Regions from separate parts of the Homo sapiens genome. Here regions 1 and 3 are each linked to region 2. Evidence: promoter capture Hi-C in human tissues and cell types (Jung and others, 2019). All regions are on one chromosome and are shown on one strand. Each heading gives the region's core, a stretch centred on a gene start or on the middle of the fragment in contact. The rest is flanking DNA. Distances are from core to core; before and after follow the strand shown. Region 1 overlaps LOC105377085 (a long non-coding RNA gene). Region 2 holds the start of RASSF1 (Ras association domain family member 1). Region 3 overlaps DOCK3 (dedicator of cytokinesis 3).

The links. The method cuts DNA at HindIII sites, captures the fragments that hold promoters and counts their contacts. A contact is called where the count stands out against the background at its distance.
Region 1: a fragment that was not itself captured here is called in contact with the fragment with the promoter of RASSF1 in region 2 in 4 of the 25 tissues and cell types used here (bladder, dorsolateral prefrontal cortex, hippocampus and 1 more).
Region 3: a fragment that was not itself captured here is called in contact with the fragment with the promoter of RASSF1 in region 2 in 1 of the 25 tissues and cell types used here (dorsolateral prefrontal cortex).

What each region holds. Positions count from the first base shown.
Region 1 is chr3:51,535,320-51,538,188 of GRCh38, forward strand. It overlaps LOC105377085 (a long non-coding RNA gene), which reads left to right. Exons shown (of 3, transcript XR_940835.3): 2 at 467-668; 3 at 840-1,350. Among named protein-coding and RNA genes, the nearest start is that of RAD54L2, 2.0 kb to the right of the region's middle. The HindIII fragment of the contact is 7,506 bases long and covers 1-2,869 here.
Region 2 is chr3:50,339,050-50,342,085 of GRCh38, forward strand. RASSF1 (Ras association domain family member 1) reads right to left here and starts at 1,787. Exons shown (of 6, transcript NM_007182.5): 1 at 1,507-1,787. The coding sequence starts at 1,756. It overlaps ZMYND10 (zinc finger MYND-type containing 10), which reads right to left. Exons shown (of 12, transcript NM_015896.4): 9 at 2,966-3,036; 10 at 2,761-2,882; 11 at 2,525-2,650; 12 at 2,063-2,436. The coding sequence ends at 2,361. RefSeq lists enhancers at 892-1,715, 1,716-2,538 and a silencer at 1,527-2,046. The HindIII fragment of the contact is 7,648 bases long and covers 1-3,036 here.
Region 3 is chr3:51,363,793-51,366,601 of GRCh38, forward strand. The region is part of intron 49 of DOCK3 (dedicator of cytokinesis 3); the gene reads left to right. Among named protein-coding and RNA genes, the nearest start is that of MANF, 20 kb to the right of the region's middle. The HindIII fragment of the contact is 3,213 bases long and covers 1-2,809 here.

The DNA.
Region 1 (2,869 bases), core at 122-2,621, 1.2 Mb after region 2:
TGTCACCTTGGAATCTGGTTCAGAGTGATCATGGCTTTGGCATTCAGAAGTGAGGGGGGGCCATTAAGTGTGGCTGGTGGGTGCAGGATTGATCTAACTCTCACGGAATAAGCAGGAGGTGAAACAGATAAAATGAAGAGGGTGGCTTGAACCTGGGAGGTGGAGGATGCAGTGAGCCGAGATCACGACACTGCACTCCAGCCTGGGTGACAGAGCAAGACTCCATCTCAAAAAAAAAAAAAAAAAAAAAAATGAAGAGAGTGTTTTTCCATGTGTGTTTTCATGGTGATGAAGAAAACCTTGTTCTGGTTTCTGATTAACCAACAAGTCCCTGGTGAATTTTGCCTAATCCCAGAAGGGCAGTCCCAGATCTTTTAAACTCACTTAAAGGTATAGCCAACAATAGGCAGGTGTATGCATAAATCACTCTAGGGACTTCCCCTAATAGAACCAAATCTTTCTACAGGTGAATTTTGGGGTACCATGAATCTCAGAGGTTGTTGTGCGGGCATGACATCATCCAAGTAGTCAGGGAATTTCTAGAAGGGTGGGGAAACAGATGTTACAGAAGGACAATGCCATCCTGGGAGGAGGGAATGGAAGAGGCTTCCATCACCAGGGGAGCTAGCTCTGGCCTTTGTGGCTCCTACTTTAGTGACATGAGAAAGGTAAGTGTCTATGTTTTGGTGGTTGTGCCTTAAGTCTTTTAATTGGGGGCCAGGGGATGGGGGTGGGGGGATTAACAATAGGAGTGTGTGTGTGTGTGTGTGTGTGTGTGTGTGTGTGCGTTTAAATATATCTGGCCAACCTGACTGGTTTCTTTCTCCTCTCTTTGGTAGTCTCTGGGGCTTTCATGTGAACCTGTTTCAACTCCTGAGGCCAAATATGCTCTATGTGTCACCCGGAGAGTCCCAGCTAAGAGGCCAAATGAGTAAAATGCAAGACATGAAGCTGGGAGGGGTCGGAATGCTGATCTGACCTCAGGCTGCTGGAGAGAAGTTAACTAGCTTTTTAAAATTTTTATTTATTTTTTTAAGAGATAGTGTCTTGCTATATTGCCCAAGCTGAACTTGACTTCCTGGGCTCAAGTGAGCCTCCTGCCTCAGCCTTCTGAGAAGCTGGGACTACAGAAATGTGCCACTGCACTTGGCTGGAACCAGCTTTTGAGGCATTCTTTGCCTCTGAAGAACCTAGGATGAAGTTCCTCTTACCTGAGGAAGCGGAGAAGCTTCCAGAGGCTTTGACTGTGCTGCTTTCTAACCCATGAGCCTGCTGTTTCCAGAAGGAACACTCTATTAGTCTGTTCTCACACTGCTATAAATAAATGCCTGGCACTGGATAATTTATAAAGAAGAGGTTTAATTGGCTCATGGCTGTACAGAAAGCATGATGCTGGCATCTGCTGGGCTTCAGGGGAGGACTCAGAAAACTTACATTCATGGTGGAAGGCGAAGGGGGAGCGAGCACCTCACAAGGCTGGAGTAGGAGGAAAAGAGAAGTGGGGGGAGGTGCCATACACTTTTTTTTTTTAAGACAGCCTCACTGTTGCCCAGGCTGGAGTGCAGTGGCACAATCTCAGCTCACTGCAATCTCCACCTCCTGGGTTCAAGTGATTCTCCTGCCTCAGCCTCCCGAGTAGCTGGGATTGCAGACACACACCATCATGCCTGGCTAATTTTTGCATTTTTAGTAGAGACAGGGTTTTGCCATTTTGGCCAGGCTAGTCTCAAACTCCTAACCTCAGGTGATCCACTTGCCTCGGCCTCCCAAAGTGCTGGGATTATAGGTATGAGCCACCGCGCCTAGCCGACACCATACACTTTTAAACAACCAGATCTTGTGAGAACTCACAAGAAGAGAACCAAAGGGACAGTGCTAAGCCATTCATGAAGGATCTACCCCCATGATCCCATTACTTCCCACCAGACCCCACCTCCAACATTGGGGATTACAATTCAACATGAGATTTGGGTGGGGACACAGATCCATATTAGATAGCAAAGTGCCTTTTGACAGGCAGAACCCTTTCATTACCTCCAGAAAATAATATAAATGAAAAATCAGGCATATATGTGTCTCAGAAGCCAAGGGGGTATGTAAAAATGGGAAATTTGAGAACACCTGAAAATTAGGATTTTTTTTGGAACACCTTCTGCAGATCTAAATTCCCATCAAGAGTTAGCTCCAAAAATAACCGCATCTGGTATCTTAGAGGTGTGAAGGCCTAGAAGAAAAGGAAAGTGGGGACGAGAAAGGAATTGCTATCCTCTTGATTTTATGAGTAAAATACAAAGCCTTCAAAGAAAGATGCACTTTTGTAATTTAAAACATCACTTTGTCGGCCAGAGGTGGTGGCTCACGCCTGGTGGCCCAGCACTTTGGGAGGCAGAGGTGGGCAGGATCACCTGAGGTCAGGAGTTCGAGACCCGCCTGCCCAATATGGCGAAACCCTGTCTCTACTAAAAATGCAAAAAATTAGCGGGGCGTGGTGGCGGGCGCCTGTAATCCCAGCTACTCGGGAGGCTGAGGCGGGAGAATAGCTTGAACCCAGGAGGCGGAGGTTGCAGTGAGCCAAGATCCCGCCACTGCACTCCAGCCTGGGCGACAAGAGCGAAACTCCTTCTCAAAAAAAAAAAAATCATTTTGTCAACATTCACTTATTGGGAAGAGGAGAAGAGAACCTGAGGCTATAGTGGAGAGAGCCGTTACAGTCCCATCAGTAACTGGAGCCCACATGGCCACATGGCAGTAATTCCCAACTTGAGGAAGGAGAACCTGCACCCTTAACCTCCACCTGAGTGTCAGCAATCAAGAAAGCCCCCTTTTGCCTCTGCTTCTCTTCCAGGGAATTCTGAAGACAGCTTCACTT
Region 2 (3,036 bases), core at 537-3,036:
AAACACTGACCTAAACCCTCAGACTAGATCCTCCGTGCCAGTACCTTCACTAGGATGTCTAAAAGACGTTTCAAGTGAACATGGCCAAAATTTAATTCCCTTTTCTTCAGCCTCACTGCTACACTTGCCCAGCTTCCTCTTTGCAGCAAAAATGGCCACTAGGCTCCCAGTTACTGGAGACAAAAGCCCAAACTTATCTTTGATTTCTCCCTTGTCTCTACCTCTGATAAACATGCCCAAATCATCCTGCTTCTTATCTCCATGGCTACTTTATTTCTCTTTGAGAACGCTGCAATGTCCCAGCCTTGTTCTTTTTTTTTTTTTTTTTTTTTTTGAGACAGAGTCTCACTCTGTCGCCAAGGCTGGAGGGCAGTGGCACGATCTCGGCTCACTGCAACCTCCGCCTCCTGTGTTCAAGCAATTCTCCCACCTCAGCCTCCCGAGTAGCTGGGATTACAGGCACCCGCCACTACGCCTGGCTCATTTTTTTTTATTTTTTAGTAGACATGAGGTTTCACCATGTTGGCCAGGCTGGTCTTGAACTCCTGACCTCAGGTGATCCACCCGCCTCCGCCTTCCGAAGTGCTGGGATTACAGGCATGAGCCACCGCGCTCGGCCCCTTGTTCATTCTTTGCATTCTGTCACAACTTTGTGCTCCCCCCAGCTGAATTTGTGATGTCCTCTTGTACCGGATGAGAGGGTCTCCATGCACACACAGACCTGGGACACTATCCATCCACAAGTTCCTAAATAGGCCAGAGCAGTGATGCTCAACCCAGACTCCATGTTACAATAATTTGGGGAGTTTTTAAAATTTACTGATGCCTAGGGTCCACTCCCAGCAGTTGATTCAACAGGTCTGCGGTGGGATCCAGGCTAGCGGGGAGGACTGTAAAAGCACCCCTGGTGATTCCAGCTGGTGTCTACCCAGGGGAGAGCAACCTTTGCTTGCTGGCGATTCCCAGGGGTGCAGAAGGACTGCTGGGTGTGTGGCTGCGTGCATATTTTAGCATCTGATTCACTGGGTCAGAAAAGGGTGTTTGCTAAATAAAGACTCAACAAAACTCCTGCTTGCAGGGGGCCCACCAAAGGTTCTAAATTTTTCCAGGCTCCCTCCCATAGGTGGTAATTTCCCTTCACCCTAAAGGTTCTGGAGGGGGTCATGAGTGTTTGAGAAGAGGCAAGCCTGGGAAGATGGACTCCGAGGACAGTAGGCACAAACCCTTTCTCAAGAAGGGCCAAGGCATTTTAAAGATAAGAAACTTAAAATCAGCGTATTTTTACATATAAGCAGCCACCTCTGCTCATCTGTGGCCCAGATACGAGTGGAGTGCGACAAGGGATAAACCATTTTCGCGCACTCTTCAGCGATGGGGCGAAAGTAACGGACCTAGTCCTCGGGAGCTGTCCCCGCCGACCCCCTCTGCCGCGACTTGACCCGCGGCGACTGCGCTGCCCCTTGGCTGCCCCTTCCGCTCTCGTAGGCGCGCGGGGCCACTACTCACGCGCGCACTGCAGGCCTTTGCGCACGACGCCCCAGATGAAGTCGCCACAGAGGTCGCACCACGTGTGCGTGGCGGGCCCCGCGGGCTGGAAGCGGTGGCCACGGCCAGGGACCAGCTGCCGTGTGGGGTTGCACGCGGTGCCCCGCGCGATGCGCAGCGCGTTGGCACGCTCCAGCCGGGTGCGGCCCTTCCCAGCGCGCCCAGCGGGTGCCAGCTCCCGCAGCTCAATGAGCTCAGGCTCCCCCGACATGGCCCGGTTGGGCCCGTGCTTCGCTGGCTTTGGGCGCTAGCAAGCGCGGGCCGGGCGGGGCCACAGGGCGGGCCCCGACTTCAGCGCCTCCCCCAGGATCCAGACTGGGCGGCGGGAAGGAGCTGAGGAGAGCCGCGCAATGGAAACCTGGGTGCAGGGACTGTGGGGCCCGAAGGCGGGGCTGGGCGCGCTCTCGCAGAGCCCCCCCCGCCTTGCCCTTCCTTCCCTCCTTCGTCCCCTCCTCACACCCCACCCCGGACGGCCACAACGACGGCGACCGCAAAGCACCACGCGGAGATACCCGTGTTTCTGGAGGCCAGCTTTACTGTGCTAGAGGAAGAGGGTCCCCACATCCGGCCCTGGCCCTCCTGGTCCGGTTTGCTGAAGCAACACACTTGGCCTACCCACTGGGTGGGGCAGGAAGTCTCGAGCCTTCACTTGGGGTGAGGAGGAGGGAGATCGGTCAGCAGCTTTACCGCCCGCTCTGCTCTCCACTGCGGAGACTGGGGCTCCGGCAGAGGCTGGACCGTGATCTTGAGGTTCAGGGGTGCATTCTGGGTGGATTCCCTTGGCATGGGTGGTCGGCCCTCAGCAACTGCAGCCCTCATTTGGCTCTGTCACCCTGGGCTGCCAGGACACAAGTCTTTCCATGCTTTTCCCAGTGCTTGACTTGGCACTCCCTGCAGGCAGGTGGGTATTGAGGATGGCAATGCATGTGGGGGATGTGGGAGTAGGGCTTAGAGGTCCAAGGTTCTAGGATACCCTCACCTGCAGCAATACCACTCATTCTGGCATCGTGAGCAGCGCTTAGAAGCCTCTGCACTGCAGTAAGCACAGCGGGGCCGCTCTGGAGCCACTGCCTCTAGCACATCCAGCCTGTAGGTCTCAGCCCACCTGGGGGAAAGTCAGGAAGGTCTGACTGGCCCTGGAAGGTGGGGGCACCCCACCCACATCCATGCCTCCTGCATCCCCTCCACCCTCCCTGCCATTTCCACAGGCCTTACCTTCGCGCCTGCAGCCGCAGGTCCTGCTCTGAGGGGCTGAACACATGCTGGAGCTGGTGCTTGGCAATTGCCTGCCACTTGCCTCTGTTTTCTCGCTCCAGCCGCTCCCAGATTTCTGGGATCTAGGAGAGAGAAGTGGAGAGTGGCAGGAAGGTGCTGGTAAAGTGGGACAGTGGTCCTGAGCAGCTAACTTTCCAGTGCCTACCTGTTCCAACACCAGGTCCTTCTTAGGAGGCTGGGTTTCAGTTAGGGTCAGATGGGCCAGGAAACTCTGCA
Region 3 (2,809 bases), core at 156-2,655, 1.0 Mb after region 2:
ATATCCCTACAAAGGACATGAACTCATCCTTTTTTATGGCAGCATAGTATTCCATGGTGTATATGTGCCACATTTTCTTAATCCAGTCTGTCATTGATGGACACTTGGGTTGGTTCCAAGTCTTTGCTATTGTGAATAGTGCCGCAGTAAACATACATGTGCATGTGTCTTTATAGTAGCATGATTTATAATCCTTTGGGTATATGTCCAGTAATGGGATGGCTGGGTCAAATGGTATTTCTAGTTCTAGATCCTTGAGGAATCTCCACACTGTCTTCCACAATGGTTGAACTAGTTTACAGTCCCACCAACAGTGTAAAAGTGTTCCTATTTCTCTACATCCTCTCCAGCACCTGTTGTTTCCTGACTTTTTAATGATTGCCATTCTAACTGGTGTGAAATGGTATCTCATTGTGGTTTTGATTTGCATTTCTCTGATGGCCAGTGATGATGAGCATTTTTTCATGTGTCTGTTGGCTGCATAAATGTCTTCTTTTGAGAAGTGTCTGTTCATATCCTTTGCCCACTTTTTGATGGGGTTGTTTGATTTTTTTATTGTAAATTTGTTTAAGTTCTTTGTAGATTCTGGATACTAGCCTTTTGTCAGATGGGTAGATTGTAAAAATATTCTCCCATTCTGTAGGTTGCCTTTTCACTCTCATGGTAGTTTCTTTTGCTGTGCAGAAGCTCTTTAGTTTAGATCCCATTTGTCAATTTTGGCTTTTGTTGCCATTGCTTTTGGTGTTTTAGTCATGAAGTCCTTGCCCATGCCTATGTCCTGAATGGTATTGCCTAGGTTTTCTTCTGGGGTTTTTATGGTTTTAGGCTAACATTTAAGTCTTTAATCCATCTTAAATTAATTTTTGTATGAGGTGTAAGGAAGGGATCCAGTTTCAGCTTTCTACATATGGCTAGCCAGTTTTCCCAGCACCATTTATTAAATAGAGAATCTTTCCCCATTGCTTGTTTTTGTCAGGTTTGTCAAAGATCAGATGGTTGTAGATGTGTGGTATTATTTTTGAGGGTTCTATTCTGTTCCATTGGTCTATATATCTGTTTTGGTACCAGTACCATGCTGTTTTGGTTACTGTAGCCTTGTAGTATAGTTTGAAGCCAGATAGTATGATGCCTCCAGCTTTGTTCTTTTTGCTTAGGATTGTCTTGGCAATGCAGGCTCTTTTTTGGTTCCATATGAACTTTAAAGTAGTTTTTTCCAATTCTGTGAAGAAAGTTATTGGTAGCTTGATGGGGATGGCATTGAATCTATAAATTACCTTGGCAGTATGGCCATTTTCACGATACTGATTCTTCCTATCCATGAGCATGGAATGTTGGAACTTCCATTTGTTTGTGTCCTCTTTTATTTTGTTGAGCAGTGGTTTGTGGTTCTTCTTGAAGAGGTCCTTCACATCCCTTATTAGTTGGATTCCTAGGTATTTTATTCTCTTTGAAGCAATCGTGAATGGGAGTTCACTCCTGATTTGGCTCTATGTTTGTCTGTTATTGGTGTATAGGAATGCTTGTGATTTTTGCACATTGATTTTGTATCCTGAGACTTTGCTGAAGTTGCTTATTAGCTTAAGGAGCTTTTGGGCTGAGACAGTGGGGTTTTCTAAATATACAATCATGTCATCTGCAAACAGGGACAATTTGACTTCCTCTTTTCCTAATTGAATACCCTTTATTTCTTTCTCCTGCCTGATTGCCCTGGCCAGAACTTCCAACACTATGTTGAATAGGAGTGGTGAGAGAGGGCATCCCTGTCCTGTGCCAGTGTTCAAAGGGAATGCTTCCAGTTTTTGTCCATTCAGTATGATATTGGCTGTGGGTTTGTCATAAGTAGCTCTTATTATTTTGAGATATGTCCCATCAATACCTAGTTTATTGAGAGTTTTTAGCATGAAGGGCTGTTGAATTTTGTCAAAGGCCTTTTCTGCATCTATTGAGATAGTCATGTGGTTTTTGTCTTTGGTTCTGTTTATATGATGGATTACGTTTATTGATCTGCATATGTTGAACCAGCCTTGCATCCCAGGGATGAAGCTCCCTTGATTGTGGTGGATAAGCTTTTTGATGTGCTGCTGGATTCAGTTTGCCAGTATTTTATTGAGGATTTTTGCATTGATGTTCATCAGGGATATTGGTCTAAAATTCTCTTTTTTTGTTGTGTCTCTGCCAGCCTTTGTTATCAGGATGATGTTGGCCTCATAAAATGAATTAGGGAGGATTCCCTCTTTTTCTTTTGATTGGAATTGTTTCAGAAGGAATGGTACCAGCTCCTCTTTGTACCTCTGGTCGAATTCGGCTGTGAATCCATCTGGTCTTGGACTTTTTTTGGTTGGGAGGCTATTAATTATTGCCTCAATTTCAGAACCAGTTATTGGTCTATTGAGGGATTCAACTTCTTCCTGGTTTAGTCTTGGGAGGGTGTATGTGTCCAGGAATTTATCCATTTCTTCTAGATTTTCTAGTTTGTTTGCATAGAGGTGTTTATAGTATTCTCTGATGGTAGTTTGTATTTCTGTGGGATCGGTGGTGATATCCCCTTTATCATTTTTTATTGCATCTATTTGATTCTTCTCTCTTTTCTTCTTTATTAGTCTTGCTAGTGGTCTATCAATTTTGTTTATCTTTTCAAAAAAAACCAGCTCCTGGATTCATTTATTTTTGAAGGGTTTTTTGTATCTCTATCTCCTTCAGTTCTGCTCTGATCTTAGTTATTTCTTGCCTTCTGCTAGCTTTTGAATGTGTTTGCTCTTGCTTCTCTAGTTCTTTTAATTGTGATGTTAGGGTGTCAATTTTAGATCTT